Linked DNA regions of Homo sapiens: region 2 is linked to region 1. Evidence: promoter capture Hi-C in human tissues and cell types (Jung and others, 2019). All regions are on one chromosome and are shown on one strand. Each heading gives the region's core, a stretch centred on a gene start or on the middle of the fragment in contact. The rest is flanking DNA. Distances are from core to core; before and after follow the strand shown.

The links. The method cuts DNA at HindIII sites, captures the fragments that hold promoters and counts their contacts. A contact is called where the count stands out against the background at its distance.
Region 2: the fragment with the promoter of NHEJ1 here is called in contact with the fragment with the promoter of WNT6 in region 1 in 1 of the 25 tissues and cell types used here (IMR-90 fibroblasts).

The regions. Positions count from the first base shown.
Region 1 is chr2:218,855,011-218,861,276 of GRCh38, forward strand. It overlaps WNT6 (Wnt family member 6), which reads left to right and starts at 4,795. Exons shown (of 4, transcript NM_006522.4): 1 at 4,795-5,107. The coding sequence starts at 5,028. The HindIII fragment of the contact is 31,874 bases long and covers 1-6,266 here.
Region 2 is chr2:219,158,102-219,165,092 of GRCh38, forward strand. NHEJ1 (non-homologous end joining factor 1) reads right to left here and starts at 2,714. Exons shown (of 8, transcript NM_024782.3): 1 at 2,619-2,714; 2 at 85-261. The coding sequence starts at 261. It overlaps SLC23A3 (solute carrier family 23 member 3), which reads right to left. Exons shown (of 12, transcript NM_001144889.2): 9 at 6,132-6,237; 10 at 5,287-5,454; 11 at 4,198-4,293; 12 at 3,364-4,103. The coding sequence ends at 3,808. RefSeq lists a silencer at 2,379-2,498. The HindIII fragment of the contact is 15,467 bases long and covers 632-6,991 here.

The DNA of each region.
Region 1 (6,266 bases), core at 3,545-6,044:
CCCTCCATCACTCCCCTCCACTCTCCACCGCACCCGCCTCCTCCTCCCTGCAGGACTTTTGGAAAGGCTGCTCCTTCTGCCTGAAATGCTCTTCCCTCCCTGTGTCTCCCAGTTAACGCCAACTTATTTATTTTACATTTCAGCTAGAGTGTTCCCTCCTTAGAGAAGCCCTCCCCGCCCCCATGACCTGGTCAATCCTCATCCCACAGCCTCTTACAGGCCCCTCCCTTCTTTTCCCCAGCACGGTCAAGGTTGTTGGCTTTCCTTTTGCTTGAGAGATGATGTGATTAAAGACTGTCAGCTCCATGTGGGTAGGAGTTATGTCCGCTTTTGCTCACCATTTCCCCCCTCCCCCGCTACCCAGCTGGGAGCCTGGCACATCAGTGTCCGATTACAAATTTGCTGACTGCTGCCCAGGGAGAGAGACAGCAGACAAGACATCAATAGGGAGGCTGGCTCCAGAGACCTGGATTTAGGAGCCCCGTTTCCCGCAGAAGTGAGAGCTGAAGCAGCAGGGACAGGTGGTGTCCCAGGAGCAGAATGGAGCAGTGAGACGAGAGGAGGGCAGAGGCTCTTCCCTAGAACGCTTGAGACCAGGCCAGGACCCTTTGCCCATCCCACGTCAGTACCACAGGAGCCAGCCTGGGCCAGGATGGCTGGAGAGGCTCCTGGGGCCAACCACTCCCACTTGGGCCCATGGGGCTAAGCTAAGTGGAAACAAATGTTCCCTGGCTTTCCCCCAGCCCAGTTGTGGTGGGCGAGCAGCAGCCCCTCCTTCCCTAGCCCGTGCTCTCCTGCCCCATTCAAGCTCCCCCTGGGTTCTTGCTCCCCGGACTGGTGGGGGCATGGATAGGCTTGAAAGAGGTGGAAGATGGGAGGCAGGTGGGCTCTGCAGGAAGCTGGGGCCTGGTGTAGGGGATTCTCTTATCCCTGCCTTGACTAAAGCTGGGAACTTGCTCTGGAAAAGCACACTTTCCTGACTTCAGGTGGGCTGCGGGCGTGGGAGTAGAGCTGTCTGTGATGCAGAAGGAAGAGGAAAATGAGCCTCTCTCCTCGCTCTCTTTTCTTTTTCTATCTTTCTCCATCTCTCTAAGGGGCTGGCCTTTCCTCTCTCTGTTCTCCAGGGACCCAGAAACCCAGGGTTCTTAGGAATTCTCAAGGCATGTCACCTCCCTGAAGGAATAGGAGTTCCTGGGGACAGAGAGAGGGAAGGACAGATAGGAGTTCTGGGGACAGAAGGAGGGAAGTAGGGAGGGAAAGAGGGAGGTTCTTGGGAGGGGAAGGGTCACAGGCCCAAATTCCTAGGCTCCTGCAGCCTTAGCCATTCCGAGAAACGACAGAGAAAGTGATTTAGAGACAGACACAAATAGAGACCGAATTATGAACATGGGAGAGATGTAAAAAGGCACAGAAAGACAGTGAGAGAGAATCCGCCAGAGACAGAGGGCTTTGCTTTCGCCCGCAGCGATTCTGATGTTATCTATTTCCAGCTGCCTCTCCCCCACCACTCCACTGCCCCCACTCTGCCCCTCCTTCCTCCTCAACCTCAAGTCTCTCCTTCCCTGTCTCTCTTTCGCACAGGGCCTAGACATAGTATGAGTGGGTTCCCAGGATTTAAGGCGGAGCGATGAAGGAAGGTGGGGTGGGCAGGGCCTAGAGGATAGGGAGGGGGGTCAGACTGTCACCTCCCCATTCAGGCCACCCATTTCCGGGCTGCTGTCTTCCCACTCCAGTCTCTTGTGAATGTTCTTCTGCATGCATATCTCTGCAGAGGTGATGTGTGTGTGTGTGTGTGTGTGTGTGTGTGTGTGTATGTGAAGTGTTTCAGCCTGAGCCAGCCCATCTGTGTGTCCGTCCATACCTGTGGGTAAAAAATCACAGCACCGTCTGGGGGAGGGAAGATGTCCTGTGGTTTCTGTGGGGTTATCTGGAGGCCTGTGCCCAGTGATTGGTGTGTGTGAGGGGGCATGTATGTCACATATCTTGATCTATCTTTGTGCACCATGGTCTGTTACCTCCTGCCACCCCCTCTCCAGCTCCTGCTCCTTTGTAAGTCTTCTAAGGTGATAGTGGTGGGTTGAAGGCTCAGGAACATCTGAATTCATCTCTTTGGAGGTTTGGGGGCAAAACAACAGAAGTCATCACTCTGGCTCTGCCCAGATGCCAGCCAGCCCCTTGATGGGGATGCGGAGAGGGCAAAGGAGAGTGAGCAAAAGGGTGCTGTTGGGGCAGAAGCCCTAGGAATTGGGACTCCAGGAGTCCTGCCTGTCACAGATTCCAGCCCACCTCCCCCCGACCCCCCAACCCTATAATGCTCTGCAGGCACTACTGGGCCAACTGATTCTGGAATGGGACTGAGTGCAGGAGGGACAAGGGCTTGGGGAGTCCAGAGATGGCAAAAGATTCTGCAAGATCTGGCTAGAGTGAGTGCTGCAGGAGGGGTGGGGCCAGCTGTGTATGTTTGCAGGAAAGGTGGGGGGTGGGGGCAGAAAGGCCGCCTGCGGGGGAGAAGGCTTCTTGGCAAACGCCCCAGTTTCCTGAGCTGATCCCTGCTCCCTGCCACTGCTCCCAATTCTGTTGTTTCAATAACATCATTTTTATCCACCCCACAGAGAGACTGTGTCTTAGGAAGGGGAGGCGAGGGGCAGGGCTAGGGCATGGGGGAGGGGTGGTAATGGAGAGAGGCTGGGTCTGGAGGCAGCAGGGACTAGATTTGGGGCGCTCCCTCCTCAGGCAGAGGCAGGGCGGTCTCAGAGCCCAGGTCCCCTGATGACAAAGACAAATACATTAAAATTCTTGCCTCGGAGAAGAATGCAGGATAGGGAGAGCATTTCATAATCTGCAATAACAGTAGCAGGGTGGGAGCAGGGCTGGGCAGGGGGTTCGGAACCCAGACAGTGGCTCCCAGGAGGCTGGCCACTGGCCACCTGTAGCCTCCAGGGACCCCCAGAGCCCTCTAGCTGCCTATTTGGTACCACATGGCTGGAGTGTGCACCCAAACTGGGTATGTCTTTGAATGTGTAGTGTCCAGAGTTGGCATTGACCTTTAGGAACTGTCCAGATTGGCATTGCCCCGTAGAAACAGCAACTGTGTGCAAAGTTACTAGGTGCAGGGGCTGTGCGTGGCCTTTGGATACTGTTAAAGGCTAAAATGGGAGAGGGCAGTGCTTAGACCAGACCCTCTCTCTATGACTCTTGCCACTGCCCCCTGCCCCCTTCCCCTTCTTTAGTGTGTCCTAGCCCTTTCACCAGAACTCTCTGTATCCAGTGCAAGGGATTGAGCTGATGCAGCCTGGACACCAGGGCCCTGACATGGAGCTTGCTTGCCGGCAAGTCCACACTTCTCCAGTTCTCTCACCTCTGTCTGCTCATTCCTTCCCCCATCAGCCTCCTCCCCTGGGGTCACATCCCTTGGCCCCTTGGCCTCATCTTGATCTACTTGTCCCCCCTCTCTGGGTGACTCAGGATCTTGTCTTCTCTCTCTGCTCACCAAGGTTGTTTGGAAGTGACCTCAGTCATCACTCTCTTGGAAGCGACCTCAGTCCCCACATTCAGGTCCCCCTCTCTACCAACAACCAGGAGCTTTCTTCTGGGCGCCTGACGTTTCTGCCATAGGGACTCGATCTGTCCTCCCCACTCCAGGACAGCTTTAAAGGTTGATGGTTGCTCTTGATGGTATGGCAGGGAGAATGTCCCACACCACCTGTCCCTTGGCACCCCGGGGCACGTCGGGGACGGGAGGGGCAGGGGCTGCTGCCCACTGCCAGCCGAATGGCATGATGAATGGAGCTGTCCCTCTTCCCCACGGAGCCTTTGATCTCCCCCTCGTGGGGAGGGGGCCAGGGGCATCAAAGACATTTTTGTGGCATTAGAAAATCTGATAAACGCCATCTCACCTGCAGCTGGCTCTCCCACCCCTTCTACCCGGGCCAGGTTGGGGGAGGAACTCGAGGCAGGGACTCTTGGACACGCGAGGCCGGGCTAAAGCGAATTCTGACCCCTCGATCTCTTGAAAGTCTGCGACCTCCATTCTCCCGCTCGCTTACAAGTGCCAGCGCTTGCGCGCACGCCCTGGAGCGGCTACTCTTGCCCTCTCATTTCCCCCACCTCCCCGCCCTAGAACGCGGGCTTGAGAGGTGGGATGGCTGGGGGAGCGAGAGCGGAGGCCCAGGGCTTCCTCCCTTCTTCAAGGAGAGGCTGACGAAGGGGCATGAGGCATCGAACAGGGACACGGAAAGAGATGACCCCTCCAGCATCCGCCTGTCGGGCGGTCCAGTTTGACAACCCTCGCCGAAGCACCCCGCGCCCCAGGCCAACTTCCTCTCTTGCCTCCGCGCCAGCATCTCCCTCCGCACCGCCCCCCGCCCCAAACTCCCTCATTCCTGGGAAGTTTTCTCTCTTTACAGTCAACAAACCTGTCAAACGTCTCCCTTCCAGCCCGTCCCCCATTCCTCAGCTCCTCTTTCTCCCCCCTCACCCCTCTCTACTCTTCTTCCCAGCCCTTCCTTGCCCCCGACTCCAGGCGGCCGCGAGCGGCGGGGGGCTCCAAGTCCGAGAGAGGCGAGGCGAGGGGGCGAAGCGGGCGGGTCCCACAGCCCGAAGCGCGCTGGGGCCCCGCCCCGGCACCCCGCTCCCGCCCTCCGCTGCGCTCCGCGCCAGCCGCCCCGGGGCGCACGGCTCGCTCCCGAGAGTCCCGCTGCCTGACTGTCGCAACTGCCACCTCCCTCCGGCCCCCTGCCCCCCGCCCCCGCCTCGGCCCCGCTCCCCTCCCACCTCCGCCCCCGGCTCTGATTTCTTCTCCCGAGCGAGCTCCGCAGGAGACACAGGCGCTGGCTGCCCCGTCCGCTCTCCGCCTCCGCCGCGCCCTCCTCGCCCGGGATGGGCCCCCCCGCCGCCGCCGGATCCCTCGCCTCCCGGCCGCCGCCGTTGCGCTCGCCGCGCTCGCACTGAAGCCCGGGCCCTCGCGCGCCGCGGTTCGCCCCGCAGCCTCGCCCCCTGCCCACCCGGGCGGCCGTAGGGCGGTCACGATGCTGCCGCCCTTACCCTCCCGCCTCGGGCTGCTGCTGCTGCTGCTCCTGTGCCCGGCGCACGTCGGCGGACTGTGGTGGTGAGTCCGGCTGTCCTGGCGCGGCTCTGGACCCTGGAGGGTGGGGACCCCGGGACCCAGGACAGACTGGGGTGTTCCGCAGCCTCCCGGCTCTACCTGCTCTCCGAGCCCAGCTTTCTGGCCTCGGCCGGGGGCGTTTCTGAACTCCACTTCGACGTTCCTAACCCTCGGGAACATTCTATTGTGTTTCCTCCTCCCGGGTTCTCTCCCACCCCCCGCCAAGTTATGCGCTCACCCAGCTCACCAAGGAACAGGCGAGTGGGTAGGAAAGATCTTTCGGGAAGACACATATCCGAGGAAAAGAATGTGTGAGGAGGGCCCTGGATTCAGGGTATGGGGCTGGATTTGGAGAAGACAGGAACAAGGTGGGAAGCCACAAGGCAGAGAGGGCCACACAGCTGCCCCTTCCCCGCCCTGCTTTGCCTACCAACCCACCGGCTTCTCTCTGGGCTCCTGAGGAGTGGGCCTTAGTGACGACAGAGGGAATATAAAGGGGAAAGTGAGTCAGGACCCTGGTTTTCTCTACCTCGTCCTCCCCAAGCAAGGAAAAGGAGGAGCGGAAGGAACCGGACCCAGGCGCCCGGCCCTTCCAGACCTGGGGGTCATGAATGAAAAAATATGTGCAGCCCGGGAGATACGGGACCGGGAGGGGTCCTGCGGGAAGGGAGAGGGGCCTGGCCAGCCAAGGGAAGGGGGCGTCTTCCCAGGCTTGGCCCTAGCTAGAAGGGACACCTAGGCAGCGAAGGTTGCGGGAGCTTCGAGCCTTGGGGGTGGGGGTGGGGCCGGGGCGGGGAAGGAGGGTGCCCGACCGGGACGGCTCAGAGATCCAGATCCAAAGGACTTTTTTCCCCCTAGGTCTCCAGAGCCGCAAACCCTCGCCCGGAATAGCTCAGTGTTTAGAGAGGAGAGACTTGGACAATAACGCTGACGGGTTAGCCAATCCTAAGAAGGCAGGGTCGTGTCTATTTGCATATTGCCATGTGATTGGCTGGATGCCGACCCTCCGCTCCTCCCTCGCCCCCCAGATTTGGAAGAGAGGCAGATCCCCGTGCTCTGGAGAGATAGGGAGTAGGATGCCCACACAGGGAGTGGCGGGCAGCAATCCCTACTCCGTGATGCGGAGAGCCGTCCGACGCTAGTGTCACGGAAAGGGCGAACC
Region 2 (6,991 bases), core at 1,464-3,963, 300 kb after region 1:
TTCAACCTTCCTTGGGAAACTACAGGCCAGCAAGCTGGTTGATGTTCACATCCCCGACACAGCAGTACTTCTCCTCATACTTACCTTGGCTCGCTGGCTGACCACACTAGTGTCCACCTGTTCATGCCACACCTGTTGAAGATCTGAAACCAACAAGGCATAGCCCTGCTTGGTGATAAAAACCTTGGCCAAGAGGGAGTTCTCTGCAAGCTGTAGCCACGCCCATGGCTGCATCAACAGGCCTTGCTCCAGTTCTTCCATCTGCAAAAAAGTCCTCATTTAGTAAAGAGCCTCAGGGTCATGCTGGCCTAGGGAGGGCACCACCCAAACCAGTCTGTATCAACTAAAATCTCATGAAAATCCTCCCTGATAAAATAGAAGGCATGGATTTACGTTCTCCCAGTATACAACCAGCTGAGCACTGACTTTACTACCTCCTGGCCACTAAAAGTATATTTAAAATCTTGAGGGTTTTTTTTTTCCCATATTACATTCCTAGAGGACAGAAAATCTTTCTTCCATAGTGTTTAAACCTCAGCATATTGCTGTTAGTATTTCTGCTTTCTAATACTATAACATAACGTGGAAACCTAAACCCTTCTTGTTCCATCTTTATCACATTCCTAATAAATATGTCACTCCTATCCTTTCCCAGAACTAGAAGAGAAGGAATAGTTCTTGTCTTATAAAACATCATAAGTCATAGTGTCAGGGCCAGGAAATTCGAAGTATTTGATCATTATCTAAAAACAAAGTTTAGGAAGCTCTCAGGATTTTTTTAAAAATCCCTAAAACAGGTTCTTAATCTAGAGTCAATGCATGTGAATCCTCTAGAATTATATGAAAATGTTATGTGTACACGCATATATGCATGGGGAGGGGGAAGAGGTCTACAGCTATCATCAAACTCTCAGGGATCGATGACACAAAAAAGAGCTAAGAACCTGTGTCCAGGAGCAACAGAAAAGACCTAAATTTCATTTCAACAAAAACCAGAATGACTAGGAAATCATGAATACAAGGCAGAGCACATCACAGAGGTAAAGACTGAATTAACTTCCACTTAACTCATCCTCCACATTCCCACTCCAGTGCACTGCCACCAATGACAACATGCCCAGCCTGGAACCCCTGCAAAACAACTTTTCTATCTCAGCAGCTAAAGTAGTAGGCTTAACCTAGTAGACAATCAGAACTACGGCTGCTTGACAGAGAATGTGATTGTTTTTCCTGTGGGGGAGAAAAAAATATGTCAATTTCCTTCATTATTCCAGTCTACAAATATAAAATGAACAGAAGTACCAGGAAGGAAAAATTTAGAATGTAAATAATGAAATTCCTTATTAAGTCTGATTAACACAGTCATTTCCCCTAGCTTTTGAAGTGTGCCCTTGTGACTTGTGACATAACTTTATATATATATGCATATATATATGCATATATATATATGCATATATATATGCATATATATATGCATATATATATGCATATATATATATGCATATATATACATATACGTGGTGATCTTTCTTTATGGCATCCTCAAAGCCTTGTGTTTGGAGGATGGTGTTTCCGTCACATTTCCCACATGCTGCTCTTATGGGGACAGAAGTGGTCATGGGATGATTAAGCTAGTCCTAGCCGGACAAGAGCTCCACAATGCCAAAGGTCACAAACGCGAATAAAGTCGCCACTTTCATCTCCCTTATAGGCACTCCCCAGTGTACTCTTAACAGTTGCCAAAATTGGGTTTACTATTCTAGCCCATTCCTTCGGAAAGCCCGGAAGCTCAGAACCCTCAAATTGATGGGTTTTGTTTGTCTGTTGGGTAAAGGGGGAGGAGTTTAAAATGTGGCCAGGAGTAACGGGCCCTATAAAAAGGCCTGACACATTGGGCACCAGACCCCGGCTGCCTGCTCCCACCACACGCGTCCCGTTCTGCGTCCGAAGCTTCTACACTTCATCCTTTTCTTTTTTCCTTCAAGGCTGCCTCTAACATTCACATTAACGAGATTCACGGGTTTATTTCTCTTGAGTGGAGGGGCGCTGAGCGGCATCCCGGCGGAGGGGTCCCTTGAGAACCTTTATCTGCACCGAGTCCGCTCCTCAGCAGTGACCCCTCTGGGCAGTTCCTCCGACGCCCTGCAGAGGGCAGTAGAGGCCCAGAGAGCATCCCGGCTGGGCCCCGCCCGGTCCCCCTGGGACAGCGCGAACCCTAGGTCCCACCACAACCATAGCCCCACCCCAGGAGCCGCCAGGCGTCCCGCTTCCACCCGCCCCAGCTATAACAGCCTTCGCTGTCCGCCTTCCCATTTCTACAGCACTGGCTGCACTGGGGCGCGGCTTCAAGGGGCAACAAAGCCGGCCACCAGCGGCTTCGTCGCACCAAACAGGCGACCAACGAGTACCTTCACTCGAGCCCTACCATCCACGCCGGGCAGCAGCCAGCGGACTGCGCACGCGCGGCCCCGCCCACCCCTCCCCCGGAGGCCTGCCCTGGACCCCGGCAGCGCGCGCTCCCTCCAGGGAGAAAAGGCCAGCGCCAGGGCCAACCCGCAGCGTCTGAGCAGCCCCTCGCTGGCTTGCTCCTGCCCGGACTCGAACGCGATTCCACCTACCGTCAGCGGCCGCGAGAGCGCCCACTCTCTTAGCCGCACGCACGCTTTCCTGCCCGCTCGCGCAAACCGAAAGGCCTAGAGTAAGAGGCCGCTTTCCCCCCACCGCAAGAGGAGGCAGGGTCTTGGGATACAGGGGCGGGGCCTATGCCTGGCGTGGGCGGGGCTTCTGGGCCTGGGACACTGATGAGAGGAGCGCCCCAGTGGCCAGGGTAAGTGGAGGAGAGGCCGGGCAGCCGGCTAGTAGAAGGGTAGTGGCGCGTCTTGGAGTCACGCTGGCCGAGTGGAAAGAATAGCGGGCGAGGCGCAGGAGAGGGGAGCCCAGGTTTGGATTTGTCAAACTTGAGTCACTTCTCTTCCCTCCCCTACCTATCCGGTCTCTTTTTAACAAAATAAGGGATTGAACTTCTGTAGATGATCTCTCAGGTCCTCCACCAGCACTAGAGTTGTTGAAGGAAGGAGTCTCCCAGGCATAAGTCCCATAGTCCGACCTCATCCTTTACCTCTCCTGCTTCATTTCTCCATCATCCCCGTACTTATACTCCCTCACTACTGAGAAATTTGAAACCCCTCACCTATCTTGGACTTTGTACAACCCATGGCTTTGCTCAAGCTGGACCCCGAACCTGAAAACTTCTCTGCATCCATTTTCCAAAACCAAAAATCCTCATTTGTCAAGGCCATCCTCATTGCTTCTTGCATAAAGCCTTTCCCACTGTCCCCAATCAGAATTCATTATCCCTTCCTCTTTGCTCCCACGGCATTATTTTAATCTTTATTACAGACTGCTTTCTGCTTTGCATTTTCGTTAGTAATTACAAAGGTCTTTTTAAACCGTAAATGCCTTGAGACGGCATGGACCCTGTCTTATCCCTGTAGTTCCAGGACCTTGCACATGGGAGATGCTCAGTAAGTATTAAAGTGAATGCTGGGGTTCAAGTGGCATTGATAGTACACAGGCAAAATCTCAATCATTCATGGTCCACTAAATCATGGCCTCTGCTCTGGAACAGTTAGGCCTAATTAAGACAAGGAAAGGCAACCCACCCTATTGGGAAATGGAACCTCTAGACAGTCCCATGTAATACACACACACATATCCTCTGCCTACAAGAAAGAACAGTTTGGGAGCTGACTCTCCAGCAGATGAGAGTTAGGGCTAAATTAACCAGGGCAGAAGTAGGCGTTCTGGTCATTTCTGGGACCTAAACCCTTCTCTGCTAGATTCAGGGCATGGCTCCCCTGAGCCAGGCAGCAAGTCTGCCATCTCTTCTGGCTCAGAGGAGCCTCCTTCCTCATCCCCAGGGTCTTCAGGCAGTGGGCAGAGGCAGTGGAGAGGCTGGGGGATGCAGGGACAGAGGTTTTGGATGGGGAAAGGAAGTCTGTACACTTGAGCAGCCTTCTCCCTGGGCTTCTGAGGCATTCGAGCCTCTTGGGCAGTGAAAGGAGATGGTAGCCCTTGACCTAGGCCTCGCTCAAGCTGTGTGCCTGCAAAAGAGAGGTTTGTCAGGCTATTGCCCATCCCAGGGAGGGATGGCTTCCTGGCCACTCCCCAGTCTGCTAGGGCCTAGCCTCAACTTACCAGGAATCGTGTTCTCTAGTAGGAAGCCTGAGAGTCCAGCCAGGAAGATGGGCTGTGTCAGCAGTGAGTGCAGTAATACATCCAAGGGGCTCCAGCCTATGAAGAGTTGGGGCCAGGCAGGAAGGGAACTCTGATCCTATATCCAAGCCCAGGAGTCTTACCCTCCCAGACCTAAACCTAAGCCTTGGACTAAGGACAGATCTTTCTGAATTGTCATTTCATCCCTCTCACCCTTTGTCTTTCTACTCTCCACTTTCCAAATCCAGGCCTTTCCCACAGGATTCCTGCTCAACACCCTGTGTTCTGATCATCCACACACCCTCCATATATGCTTTGACTATTCCAGGTTCCCTTTCTCTAGAAAGCGTAATATTTAAGTCCCAACCTCATCTCCCATTTTTTACCCTCTATGCTCTATCCTGGGTTTTTCAACCTCAGTCCTACTGACATCTTGGACCAGATAATTCTTTGTTGGGGGTGGTGGTGCAGGGGGGATGTCCTGTACAGTGTAGGATGTTTAGCAGCATCTTTCTATCCACTAAACCCTAGTAACAACTCCCTCTTCCTCCATTTGTAACAGCCAAAAATGTCTCCAGACATTGCCAAATGTCCCCATGGGGGCAAAATCACCCAGTTGAGAACTGGGTGAGACAAATTAAGCAATTTACTGCTCTCAGGACATATCCTAAGACTTCCCACTTCTGTGTCTTTGCATAAATGATGGTTCCTCCATCAGGAATGACCTTCTTCTCACCAAAGATGTTTAAAACTTACCATCCTTCAAGACCAGCTCTGTTACTGGATCACCTCAAACAGAAGCTATCTCTCTTGCCACTGAGCACTGTAGCTCTTTATCTGAACCTTTCCTGTTATTTTCCTACACATCTCATCTCTTGTACTACGCTGTAATAACGGAAGGCATCTTTGTATTCCAAATGGCTAGCATAGTGCTCAATAAATATCTGTTAAACAAATGGATGAAGTATTTACACCAAAGCCCAGAGAAGGCTGTGGGGCCAGGAGTCCGGGCAGCCTGAAGCCTCAACTTGCTTTCCTGCTACTGAGCAACGCCTCTTCCCTTCCACCTACCTGTGCTGAACAGGACTGGGGCTTCCCGAAACCATCTTGGCAGCAGCAAGGCCATGAAGATGGAGAAGCCCACAATGAAGATATTTCGCCCAGAGTCTATGTCAGCCAGGTAGAAGCTGGAGAATCCAGCAGACAAAACCACAGCCTGGGTCACCCCCAGCACCCCACCTGTCTCATACAGAAGAAATCAAGGGGGTCAGGAGGAGTCAAGGGGGCTCACATAGCATGGAGTATTGCAGGGCAAGCAGGTTGTAATGGGAAACAAATAAAACCCAAGAGAATGATTTTTGTTTTTTTTGTTTTTTTGTTTTTTTGGTTTTTTTTTGAGAGCAAGTCTCACTGTAACGCCCAGCCTGGAGTGCAGTGGTGCAATCTCGGCTCACTGCAACCTCCGCTTCCTACTCCCGGATTCAAGCGATTTCTCCTGCCTCAGCCTCCCGAGTAGCTGGGATTACAGGCATGTGCCACCACGCCCAGCTAATTTTTGCACTTTTAGTAGAGACAGGGTTTCATCATGTTGGCCAGGCTGATCTCGAACTCCTGACCTCAAGTGATCTGCCTGTCTGGGCCTCCCAAAGTGCTGGGATTACAGGTGTGGGCCACCACGCCCAGCCTGAGGCTGATTTCTGATTCTTCAGGAAGCCCAGAAGCCCAATCAAGAGAAGACCAAAATGTTGGGCTGAGAAATTGAGGCTGACACATGCTCATATCCATCCATCCATCCATCCATCCACCCATCCATCCAGGAAAGCTATTTAGAAGGAAAGGGTGCCATCCTAAAGAACTGATCAGGCCACACTGGGGAGTAGCAGTTCAATACCAGCCCTGTTGATACATCCACTCACCAACAACAGGCAGTGGGATGGTGGTGAGGAGCTGAGCCAACCTGGGGGAGAGTCCAAGCCCCACGCAGAGTAGCCCCACTAAGTGAGCCACTTGCTGAGATCCAGCCTGCATGAAGAAAAGACACTGGAAAACACAGCCACTTCCTCAGACTGTCCCAGGTCTTTGCCTTACTGGTTCCTTCTCATCATTTGGATCCCAGCTCAAATGTTACTCTTCCAAGAAGCCTTCCTGGCCAGTCTATCTAAACGTGCCTCCTTTCCATCCCACTACCCTGATTTTTTTATATAGCACTTATTGCCTTCTGAAATTTTCTTCACTTTTCTTTTTTTAATTTTTAATTTTTTGAGATGGAGTCTCGCTCTGTCGCCCAGGCTGGAGTGCAGTGGTGCGGTCTCGGCTCACAGCAACCTCTGCCTCCCAGGCTCAAGCGATTCTCCTGCCTCAGCCTCCTGAGTAGCTGGAATTATAGGTGCACAACACCATGCCCAGCTAATTTTTGTATTTTTAGTAGAGACAGGGTTTCACCATGTTGGCCAGGCTGGTCTTGAATTCCTAGCCTAAGTGATCTGCCTGCCTCAGCCTCCCCACGTGCTAGGATTACAGGTGTGAGCCACCATGCCTGGCCCACTTTTTTAAAAAGATACTTTTTTCCTTCAACTGTCTGCCTCTCCCTCTATGAAGTCCCCAAGAGAGCAGAACTTTATGTGACTGGTTCTTTGCCCTAGCCTTGATACAGTGCCTCATGCACAGGAGTTCCGTGGTGATTTGTTCACTTCCCCACTCTCTTAGCCCAAAGTCTAATCTTAGGCACCTCCCCAAGTAAGATAGTTGATGTGAGGTGCTAGGCACACCTGGCAAT